4 separate regions of the Homo sapiens genome follow, and all the other regions are linked to region 2. Evidence: promoter capture Hi-C in 16 types of primary human blood cells and fetal thymus (Javierre and others, 2016). All regions are on one chromosome and are shown on one strand. The core of a region is centred on a gene start or on the middle of the fragment in contact, and the rest is flanking DNA. Distances in the headings are between cores, read along the strand shown.

What was found. The method cuts DNA at HindIII sites, captures the fragments that hold promoters and counts their contacts. A CHiCAGO score of 5 or more calls a contact.
Region 1: a fragment that was not itself captured here is called in contact with the fragment with the promoter of TRDMT1 in region 2 in 13 of 17 cell types (M0 macrophages, M1 macrophages, M2 macrophages and 10 more); the score reaches 17.2 in M0 macrophages.
Region 3: a fragment that was not itself captured here is called in contact with the fragment with the promoter of TRDMT1 in region 2 in 10 of 17 cell types (activated CD4 T cells, M1 macrophages, M0 macrophages and 7 more); the score reaches 16.0 in activated CD4 T cells.
Region 4: a fragment that was not itself captured here is called in contact with the fragment with the promoter of TRDMT1 in region 2 in 1 of 17 cell types (naive CD8 T cells); the score reaches 5.4 in naive CD8 T cells.

What each region holds. Positions count from the first base shown.
Region 1 is chr10:17,038,565-17,041,485 of GRCh38, forward strand. CUBN (cubilin) reads right to left here. Exons shown (of 67, transcript NM_001081.4): 27 at 2,469-2,656. Among named protein-coding and RNA genes, the nearest start is that of CUBN, 90 kb to the right of the region's middle. The HindIII fragment of the contact is 775 bases long and covers 1,092-1,866 here.
Region 2 is chr10:17,200,282-17,203,029 of GRCh38, forward strand. It overlaps TRDMT1 (tRNA aspartic acid methyltransferase 1), which reads right to left and starts at 1,391. Exons shown (of 11, transcript NM_004412.7): 1 at 1,290-1,391. The coding sequence starts at 1,353. RefSeq lists a silencer at 1,029-1,088. The HindIII fragment of the contact is 5,194 bases long and covers 780-2,748 here.
Region 3 is chr10:16,969,818-16,972,517 of GRCh38, forward strand. The region is part of intron 31 of CUBN (cubilin); the gene reads right to left. Among named protein-coding and RNA genes, the nearest start is that of RSU1, 150 kb to the left of the region's middle. The HindIII fragment of the contact is 481 bases long and covers 1,080-1,560 here.
Region 4 is chr10:17,439,139-17,441,886 of GRCh38, forward strand. All of the region lies in intron 2 of ST8SIA6 (ST8 alpha-N-acetyl-neuraminide alpha-2,8-sialyltransferase 6), which reads right to left. LOC105376436 (a long non-coding RNA gene) reads left to right here. Exons shown (of 4, transcript XR_007062074.1): 2 at 2,100-2,148. Among named protein-coding and RNA genes, the nearest start is that of ST8SIA6, 14 kb to the right of the region's middle. The HindIII fragment of the contact is 1,512 bases long and covers 536-2,047 here.

The sequences.
Region 1 (2,921 bases), core at 229-2,728, 160 kb before region 2:
TTTATTAATTCAGAATAACTAAATTCTGGCTCTAGTAACAGGCATCCAGTTGGGATTTGGGGAAGTCAGCTGAAAAAACCCAGAAGCGATTAAAATAATGGAAGCTAGATTTCTGTGTGTGTGAGTTTTCTCTCTGTAAATGGTTGTTTGTGTGTTAAAATTTCCATCATAGACCAGCTATTGCAGCTATTGCTCTGGTCTGGCCTCTTGGCTCACAGAGATGGAAAACAATCTCCTCCCTCTGGCAACAGCGCCGTTTTTTTGGAAGGCCTTTCTGAACTTCTGGTTCTCATTTTGTATTTTTGCTCTTTCACCGTCAATGTTGCACAAGAGAAATGGCATGACCATAACATGACAGACACGTCATCCATAAGGGGCTCTAATGAGCTACTCTGCAGTTGCTGGAACAAGCATTTTTTAATTTGAGTTTTTAAACACCTTTTTGTTGCCATTTCATCCTCAAATGAGTCGAAAGAAATGGAGTTCAGGTCCTGGAAATGTTTCATCTCTTTCCTCCCCCCTCTTTCTGCCAAAGCCTCCTTTAAAGCCCAATTCAAAAGCATCCTCCTTTCTGTGGCTTTCTCCATTACGCTTTACCAAATCACGATTATGGTGCCCAGCACACTGTTATACGTGCAACGCTCGGCAAGATCATGAGTCCTATTTTGGTTTGTGCTCCAATTTGTAGGATTGCACTGCGTGTGTAGGAGGTCGTACAAAAACGCCAGTTTGGAATTCAATCTTTCTCATTCATTAGTAGTTATCATTAGACTGATACTAAAATATGGCTGTGATATTCAATTCAACTTGAACTTACTGAACTCCTGTAATGTCCCACCTGTATAATAAGTGCCTGGGTTACAAAGTTAGTAGGAGACAGCACAGACCTTCGAGAAGCCCACAGTCCAGTGGGAATCAGAATAGTCCTAACTGGTAAAAGGAGGTATGACCAACTGCTGTGTTCACGGTATAAACAAAGGGCTTTGAAAGCAACTTTTCTGCTTTTTCTAAAACACAAACAAGGTCTCACCATGTGAAGAAATGGATGCCTATTCTAGTAGTATCTTAATGATACCATCCTGGTATCATTAAGCTTGTGAAGACCAGTTGAACTCCAGGTCAAGGAAGGTGGACTTTAAAACCATTGCCAAGTACGTGCTTGTAAGTTTGTTTCATGTTGTGTCATATTTTCTTAGAATACTGGTAAACAAAACTTTCTAATGGGTAAACACTATGGCTAATATTTCTGTAATATTGTACTTTTGTAAATATAAGGCAAAATTTTTTCCCAAAAAATTATCTCTGAAAAACAAGGGAATCTCCTTATAGTTAGGACCTCACAGAGTCTCTCAAAGTGCAGAATGCTTTGTTGTCACTCTTTGTTTTCATAAACAAAAGTGCTATTTGGAAAATATATGTTAACCTCAACCAACCTCAACCAATGCTAGTTTTCCTATACAACTTGTAAAAACACAATTAAGAACATTTTACAAGAATAACATATTTTTTCCTGGGAATATGACCCCAGAGTTGCCAGCAATGGATGTTGAAGTCTTTGTAAGTAAGACTTCTAAAAATCACTGACCACCTTAAAAACAACTACCTTAAGTCACTAGGCTGCAGGTAGGAGGGCAGGTGGGAAAAAAAATGTCCTGTTATCAGAGCAAGTACTTATCACTTCAGAAAGGGTATCTAGTGAAAACATTATATGTGGATTTTTTGAAGTATTATATATTAACAATATAGACAGAAATAAAGATAATGCCTTAGATGACTCAAAAAGTTATTTTACTGATGATGAAACGTAGATGCCAAAATAACCTCCCAATTTGTAGCCCTAAAAGTTACATATGCAAGTTATCAAAAAGCTTTTTAAGTTAAAATTTCTTATTGCAAAAATAACATATTACCTTATATTCAAGGTTGCCTAATATTTAAGCAAGATTTATTGCCTGAAATTGCATACAGACAGTTGAATAAATGTTACTAGTGGTCATGATTATAACAATTGAAACTTCAATTTTACAAAAATAAAAATATACTGAAATGAACTTACATTTAAAAATAAAAACAACAATTAAAACCATGATACCTCATACTAGAAAAATGACATCTTAAATAAATCCAAGATACCCAAACATTTTCTGATCTCTTATACACAGAGAACAAACATAAAAACAACCAACAAAAAATAGAGGTTATTACTCTCCTTCCATGTAAGTTAAGTAATATGAGGTCAATGAGTCCAGAAGTTACACTGAAACCTAAAAACATAGATAGTTCTCTGTATTCACAATTTAATACATTAAATATGAAATATACCTGTTCAAATACCATGGGTGGTTGGTGTGTTATAGATGCGTGGGGCAGAGTTAGGGATTTTATTCTAAAAAGCATGATGGATTCTAACTTGACACATCTCCCTTGATCTGAAAAAGCAGTGATCAATCAAGCTTTATAATACATACCTCTAAATAATCTGTGGAGCAGTTTATGTGATGTTCCAAGTCAAATGCTAAAAATGTGTAGTTCACAGTGTTGCCTGTTGTTGCCCGGATGGTCCAGTTGCAATGCTGATTTTCAGAATAAGGATTCGGATACCCTATACTCTCTAAGATGCCATAGGTTTGATTGACTATTACCACATTCTCACATGCTGGAAAAAGAAATGACTGTTAAGAACCACTATTATATACTTCATAAGTGCTCCAAGATGAGATTTTCCTTTAAAAAAAATAAATAAAAATCATCTGTGTATGTACACACACACATATATGATGTGTATATATGTGTGTGTATATATACACACACAGAGACACACACACATATATATTTGGTGCAGTATTTTCATAGTGAAAGGATTTCCATTTAGAAGAAATGTGAAATAATACTGAAGTGAATTCAAACTAAAGAGTCATGAA
Region 2 (2,748 bases), core at 141-2,640:
TTAAGGAGTTTCAAGATATGGGAAAACGCGGACATTATATCACTTTAGAGAATTAACAAAGAGTAAATAGTACTAGAGTTTTGCTTTGATGCTGCTAAGTTTTAAAATGAGAAATAAAGATAGCCGGCAAACAAGTACTAAAAACTTAATGATCATTAACCTAGTCTAGAATTGAAACTCAATAAATCTGCTCAAAAAACTTATACGCTAAACCCATTAAATATTGTCTGTATCTTACAGTTACTCTTGTTACTCTTGGTCCTAAATAAGGAAGCAGGGAAGTTTCAGTTCGGTGGTTGTCTTAGTAATTTAAGAATAAACATGCACCTTCAAAGCCTGTTTGTCATTCTGTATCCCCAGCTCCTAGCACAAAATCTGGCACAGAATAGGAGCTCAATAAATAATTTTGAGTGAATATCACCAAAAGTAAAACTTTCAGTTCCAACTCAGCATGAAAGAAATCAAAAACCTCAAAATCAAAGACGTGCATAAAAGTAATAGTTTGCTTGATAATATCTCGTGATGTCGTTTTAAAGTAATAGTGATAATAATGTATAATATTTGGAGTGGTTACAATGTATCAGGCACTAACAAGCACTTGACAGACTTTAATCCTTATAATAATCATTCTCTTTTAAAACCAGGAAACAGGTTCATCACTGTTCACGAAGTAGCCCAACGTCACACTGCCACCAAGCTGGAACTCAGTTCTCTGGCATCTAAACGCAGAACTACAGAAGACACGTTTCTTTCCAACGATCAGACGTCCAAGTTCTTCAAGCTTCCTCTACCATCCTATTTAGCATTCGCAAACTTCTACCTTGAATTGTAGCTATTATCCCTTCCAAGATCCATCTCTCACCAGGGGAGCCCCTGACACTCCCTCCCTCCCCAGCTGGGAAGCCCCCCAGGATGAAGGACCGAGTCTCCATGCTTCTCGGTGGCTGCACACTTAGAATGGGGGCTTGGCACCAGGCGAGGGTCTCGCCCCTTTGATACCCTTTGAGGTTGATTTACTGCCTTGCGAATCCCGACTCCCAACTGGGCCCTTTGAGGCGCCATGTGCGGCCCCTCGAGCCAGACTCGGCGCCAGGAGAAGGGAGTCAGCGTCTGGAGGGGTGGACACGGCGGCGCGCAGGAGCTGTTTCCAGGACAACCGAGGGCCGCCCCACAGTGTCCGCCCCACAGTGTCCGCCCCTTGCGTCTCGCCGCTCCGCCCCTTCCCGGCGCGGGTGCTCCAACCAGCCCCCGTGAGCGAATAGAGAGAGGGGTGCTAGATGGACTCTCACCTCTCAGCGCGTGGTGCATGCCGCCCACGCCGCTGTATAGCTCCAGCACCCGCAGGGGCTCCATCCCCGCGCCTCAGCCGCCGCAGCCCCGGAGCTAGGCCTGCCGGTCCGTCGCTCCTCCTCCCTCCATCGCGCCGCTCCCTCAGCCTCTGGTTCCGCGGCGTTTCAGTTCCCCCGTCTCCTACCGCTCCAGGCTCAGGGCTTCAGAGGGCCTCGCGGCCTGGGGATTGGCAAGGGTCTAGAGGGGAACAAAGGACGGAAAACAATAAGGCTTCCCGAATGAATGGCAGCCACTCTGTAGCCTGATTTACGCTCCATTTCCTTCTTTGGTGTCAGGGGCCTTGATTGGAAAAGAAATCCAGAGTTCAGTAAAGGGGAGAAAACTGCCTTGGTTTCCAAGTGAATTAACACTGGTTAGAAGCCAGAAAAAAATCATTTTTCAGACAAGCTGCTTTTCTGTCACTTAGAAGCCTGAACATTCAAACATTCTTTCCACAGTGTGCCTTGTTTCCTGCCTGCCCTGGGTCAATAGAGAGAAATTAGACCAGCCTCTCCCCTAGAGAAGATTCCAGAATTATAAGTAAGGACACAAGTCCACTCGCAGCAGAGAAAGCCCTGTGTGCGTGCTGATAATACAGAGGATGTTTGTTGTGTCTATTAGTGGGGTTAATTATGTTTTAGCTTGGAAATTACACCTACATAGAATACACAGTGAATATCATGTAGGATTATTTATGGGTCTTTAAGTGCTATGGCCTTGATTCCTCAGGATGATCCAGTAACCAACTGTTAGAGGCTCATGTTGACGAAAAAAGCCAAACTCCGTAAAATGTTTGAAGAGGTTTATTCTGAGCACAAGGTGAGGACCGTGACCCATGACACAACCCCACAGGGTCCTGACAACATGTACCCAAGGTGGTTGGGCTACAGCTTGGGATTATATGGTTTTAGGGAGACATAAGGACATTAACTGGTATATGGAAGGTGTACTTAGTTTGGTCCATAAAGATGGGACAACTCAAAAAGGGGAAGGATTCCAGGTTACAGGTGGATTCAAAGATTTTCTGATTGGCAGTTGGTTGAAAGAGTTAAGTTGTGACCTAAAGACCTGGAATCAATAGAAAGGAATGTGTCTGGGTTAAGATAAGGTGGAGACCAAGGTTCTTATTATGTAGACGAAGTCTCATACGTAACAGGCTTCAGAGAGAATAATTGGCAAATGTCTCTTATCATGTGTAAAAAGATGCCAGACTCTTAGTTAAATATCTCTTGGATCAGGAAAAGACCTGGAAAGGGAAAGGGAGTCTCTATAGAATGTAGATTTTCCCCACAAGAGATGGCTGTGTAGGGCCATTTCAAAAAGTGTCAAAGAAATTTATTTTAGGGTAAAATGCTTTGATTTAGGGCCTGCTATCTTTCATGTGATGCTATACTAGAGTCATGTTGGAATTTTGGTATC
Region 3 (2,700 bases), core at 70-2,569, 230 kb before region 2:
AGAAGAGTATGGGGATAGTCTTGTAACCCAGAGATCATGTGAAGCCTGGTGGCTGCCTGAGGTTGACTTCAACTTTGAGGATGAAACCACCACTGACGTCACTGGGCCCTCAGTGGCCATTTCATCTGCCATCTTGTCCTCCTTTTCTTACCCACAAATGCAACTCCTAACTGAATCCTCTTCCTTAGTTTTCTTCTTTCTGCTTCTGTTCCCCAGGCACCTGATTTTCTAAATAAGCAAACTAAGAACCCCAAGCCATGAAGAGGGTGAGGGGTGGTACACGTCCAGAAACAAGCACCTGGCAGTGTCTGGTACATATTTGGCACCGAAGGGGAAAGTAATGAAGGAAACCCTGACCTCCTGACTTCAAAGCAAGGACACTTTCCATTTCATATTTGAATTCTTAACACTTTTCCTTCTATTGACAAATGAAGGCTGGGCTTATCAGATATAGAAGTGAAAGTGGGCTGGGCACGGTGGCTCACGCCTATAATCCCAGCATTCACACCTGTAATCAGAGGCCGAGGCGGGTGGATCACCTGAGGTCAGAAGTTCAAAACCAGCCTGGCCAACATGGTGAAACCCCATCTCCACTAAAAACACAAAATATTAGCCGGGCATGGTGGCACATGCCTGTAATCCCAGCTACTTGGGAGGCTGAGGCAGGAGAATTGCTTGAACCTGGGAGGTGGAGGTCGCAGTGAGCTGAGATCACACCTTTGCACTCCAGCCTGGGCAACAAGAGTGAAACTCCATCTCAAAAAAAAAAAAAAAATCAAAGTGGCTCCAGCCTGACCCTAAATTTATTTTCTCCCTCTATTTTTCTAGTCTGCCATTCCGTATCCTGTACATAACTGCAATTTTTATATTTTACCAAAATACTTATTCACTTCGTAGGAAGCATAAGGCTTTCGTTTTAGTGCTGATCCTGCTGTTAATTTCTACTTAGCCTTGACCCTGACATTTCTGGATCTCAGTATCTTTTTTATTTTTTAATTAATTTTTATTTTTTGCACTGCCCCACCTCCACCTCAATGTCTTTTTTTAAAAAATTAGGTGACAACAGCAAACGAACTCTAAGCTTTCTTCTTCCAACCTTAACATTCTATGTATCTATAGGTTTATGACAGTTAATCATATGTGAAATCATATTTAACATACAGCTAAATTACTATTTCTTCTTCTAACAACCCAAATTGTTATAGAAGTTTTGAAAAAACAGGATGGCTGGTCCCATTCCAGCATAATTTTCACTGGTATTTAAAGAGTACACTTGAACTCTGTTAAAAATCTCCTGAACCCCAACATTATCTGACAGCATCACTGGCAACTGAATATTTTTCTCTTTGCTAATAACTCTGTCTAAGCAACAGGACCAGGACATTAACTTGAATGTCTCCAAAATGAAGGATTGGCTTTATATGAACTGAGACTGCAGAGATATTATGTAAGATGTTGGACTTTGGGGTACGTTTCCCGTCCAGTGTCCATCTGGCTGTAAAGATAGAGGGCTGGTGCTTCAACTCCGGCCTTCATGAATCCCTGGACAACTAACTAACAAGCTTCCAGCCTTGCCAGGGCATTGCCTGGTCTGGTTCCAAACCTCTGCAGACCTCCTGTCCCCTTAAGTGGGCACATTTGGCAAATATATAGCAGATCTCTACCCCAACTTACCTGGACAGTCTTGTTTTCTTTTAAAACTTCCTTATCTTTTTGTAAAGTTGATTTATAAATCATCCAAGAAAAAATGACTTAGTTTGTATACAATTTATGCAATTTTTAACATAATGAATTTATAAATCAGAAAAATCTTGTGCCAAGCCATGGGTTTCAATTTCTTATTCTAAAAAGTACAACATTCATAGAACCAATCTGGCGCTTCTTGGTGTCTCTGTCCTGAAAACATGATTTTCTCTACTGTTCGCCTGGCTCTCACATTCAGCTGCTCTTTTTCCACCTGCCCTCTTCACACAACTTATATTTCTCCATTTTTTTTAAAAAACCAACTCTCCACTGATTTTGGTTAACCCATTGGTTACTGCCCATTTTCTCCTTATGCCACTCATTTCCGTAACTCTGGGGAAAAGCTCAGAAGCTCCTGCACCTCCTAACCACTGTGACCTTGAGTCTTCCACCACCACCCGCCACAATCCTGCTCCTTGCAGGTTATTAAAGACGGAATCCAGGGGCTTTGTTGCAATCCTCACGCTCGTTGGCATCCTGCATGGGATTTGATACCTTTGATCACCCACCCTTGAAATTCAGCTTCCCTCGTGGTTTGAATGCTACCACTCTCTTCTGGTTCTCCACCAAGCACTCAGCGCACCTCCTCAGCCTCCTCTCCTCTGATCTTTCATCCACCCGTTACATGGCAGTGTTTCCCCAGGAGTTGGCTTGGCCCCTTTCTCTTGGTAAAATACTCCTAAAAGTGATCATACCTACTCCCACAACTTTAATAACCACCCAATATACAGAAATTATCCTCAATTGTATATGTCTAGCTCAGATCCTATCCCAAGCTCTGAACTCTTATGTCAAACTATATAATATTTAAACCCAAAAGTTTACAAGTCAAACTCACTATCATCTACTCCCTTTACTCAGTTAATGGCCTCATCATTCACAATTTTTTTTTTTTTTGAAACAGGGTCATGCTGTCACCCAGGCTGGAGTACAGTGGTGTGATCACAGCTCACCGCA
Region 4 (2,748 bases), core at 42-2,541, 240 kb after region 2:
TGATAATTTCATTTCTTCCTCTTCCAGCTTTTCAGATTCATATCTCAAGTGTTTAGGTATTCAGCTTTTTACACATCTCACTACATGTGATTTACAGGTCATGCATTATTACTTTCTGTGCTTCTTCCCTCTCTTTTTTTTTTTTTTTTTTTGGAGTTGGGGATGGAGCCTCTCTCTGTCACCCAGACTGGAGTGCAGTGGTGCAATCTTGGCTCACTGCAACCTCCGCCTTCCATGTTCAAGTGATTCTTGTGCCTCAGCCTCCCAAGTAGCTGGAATTAGAGGCACCCACCATCACATCCTGCTAATTTTTGTATTTGTAGTAGAGGCAGGGTTTTGCCATGCTGGCCAGGCTGGTCTAAAACTCCTGACCTCAGGTGATCCACCCGCCTCGGCCTCAGCAAAGTGCTGGGATTACAGGCGTGAGCCACCATGTCCAGCATATGTTTAACTTTTTAAGAAACTGCCAAACTCTTTTCCAAAGTAGCTGCACTTGGACCTCCATGAATGTCTGATTTGGTGCCAGCAATCTCTAAGCTTCATCTCCCCACCGTGTCTGTCGCCTCCTGCACAATCCTAACAAGGCTCACTTTACCCCCACTTCCCACGTGTCAATTTAGAGACTCCCAGGCCAACGGCATGTGAAGAAGAGGAATCACTACAAGGCATGCTGAGGCTATCTCCCAGGAGGAAATGGCTCATTAGAAATCATTAGAGCAATAAAATATCTATGCAGCTGTTCCTACAAAGTTCATGAACACAAATGGAGGTATTTTCAATTGTACAACAAAGATTCAACACTCCCTAGAACTATGTGGATCTTCCAACGAGGAAAGGAAGATCTTAAATAAACTCCCAGTGCCAACAATCTTAAATCAGATGCCAGCTCTGGCTTCACTCCATTACAGCAATTTGAATGGGGTATAACTATGGGATTCAGGATGACAGTGCCTACGGCTTTCATAATCATAAGCAATAGGAAATTACTCCACAACTCCTGGAGGCAAAGGGATACTGATTTTTAGTCAGTTTTGTAATAGTTTCTCAACTCAATAGTTTCTCAAATGTATTTTTTTTTTTTTTTTTGAGACAGAGTCTCACTCTGTCACTCAGGCTGGAGTGCAGTGGCATGATCTCAGCTCACTGCAACTCCGCCTCCCGGGCTCAAGCAATTCTCCTGCCTCAGCCTCCCAAGTAGCTGGGATTACAGGCGCCCGCCACCATACCCTGCTAATTTTTGTATTTTTAGTAGAGACGAGGTTTCACTATGTTGGCCAGGATGGTCTCGAACTCCTGACCTCAAGTGATTCACCTGCCCCGGCCTCCCAAAGTGCTGGGATTACAGGTGTGAGCCACCGCACCCAGCCTCAAATGTAATTTGTAATAGTTTCTCAAATGTTAAACTTTGCCTCAAGGTCTTAGGGCTATCCATACATTCATAAGGAGTAGACAAAACTCCTGTGCACTACACCGGCTATGCACTCTCCGTGTTCTAAAACTTCTTATCCTCCTCTAACCCTACCCCAGGACTTCCTGCCTATGTGAGTAATAAACCTTTCTGTGATCCCGCTAAAGAACCACTGTCAGGAGCTTCGGCAGTAGAAGCTAACCTTGGGAGGAAGCCTTCTCCATGTCACGGTGGCATTGCTACAAAAGTCATTATAAAAGACATGGAGTTGTATCTTATTGGGGTTTTGGTTTGCATTTCCCTAATGATTAATGATGTAGAACATTTTGTCACATGCTTATTAGCCATCTGTCTATCTTCTTTGCTGAAGATAGGTCTTCACATCTGCCCATTTTTAAACTGGGGTTGTCTTCTTGTTAATTGAGTTGCAAGAGTTCATTACATATTCTGGATACAAGTCTTTTATTGGATGTATGATATACAAATATCTTCTCTCAGTGGATGGCTTATGTTTTTATATTCTTAATGGTGTCTGTTGAAGCACAAACTTTTTTTTAATTTAGGAAAAATATAATTTGTCAAATTTTTCTTTTATTGATTATGCTTTTGGTGCCACATCTAAGAATGCTACCTGATCCAAGCTTCTAAAATTTTTCTTGTATGTTTTCTTTTGGACATTTTCTGTCTGTAGCTTTTGTCTGTGATCCATGTGGAAACCATTCTTCTGTGTATAGTGTAAGGTAAGCATCTAAATTATCTTTATTTATTTATTTATTTATTTATTTGAGACGGAGTCTCGCTCGTTTCCCAGGCTGGAGTGCAATGGCGCGAGCTCAGCTGACTGCAACCTCCACCTCCCAGGTACAAGCGATTCTCCTGTCTCAGCCTCCCAAGTAGCTCGGATGACAGGCATGCACCACCATGCCTGGCTAATTGTTTTGTATTTAGTAGAGACAGGGTTTCACCATGTTAGGCTGCTCGCGAACTCCTGACCTCCAGTGATCCACCTGCCACAGCCTCCCAAAGTGCTGGGATTACAGGCGTGCACCACTGCACCCGGCCCCTGGATCTAAACTTATCTTTTTGCTTATAGAGATCCCATTGTGCCAGCACCATTTGTTGAAAACTATCCTCGCTCCACCATCTGGAAGTCCCACCCTCTAAATTTGTTAATTAATTTAATTAAGTTTCATTTGAAAGAATCTGTCAAACTCAATAAAATTACATTTATTAAAAAGACTTATCTGAAAGTTCCACATTTGAAATTGGCCCTAAACACAAGCTCTAATTTTTATTGTTTTTATAGTAAAGACGATATAAAACAATTTTTTTTTTTTTTT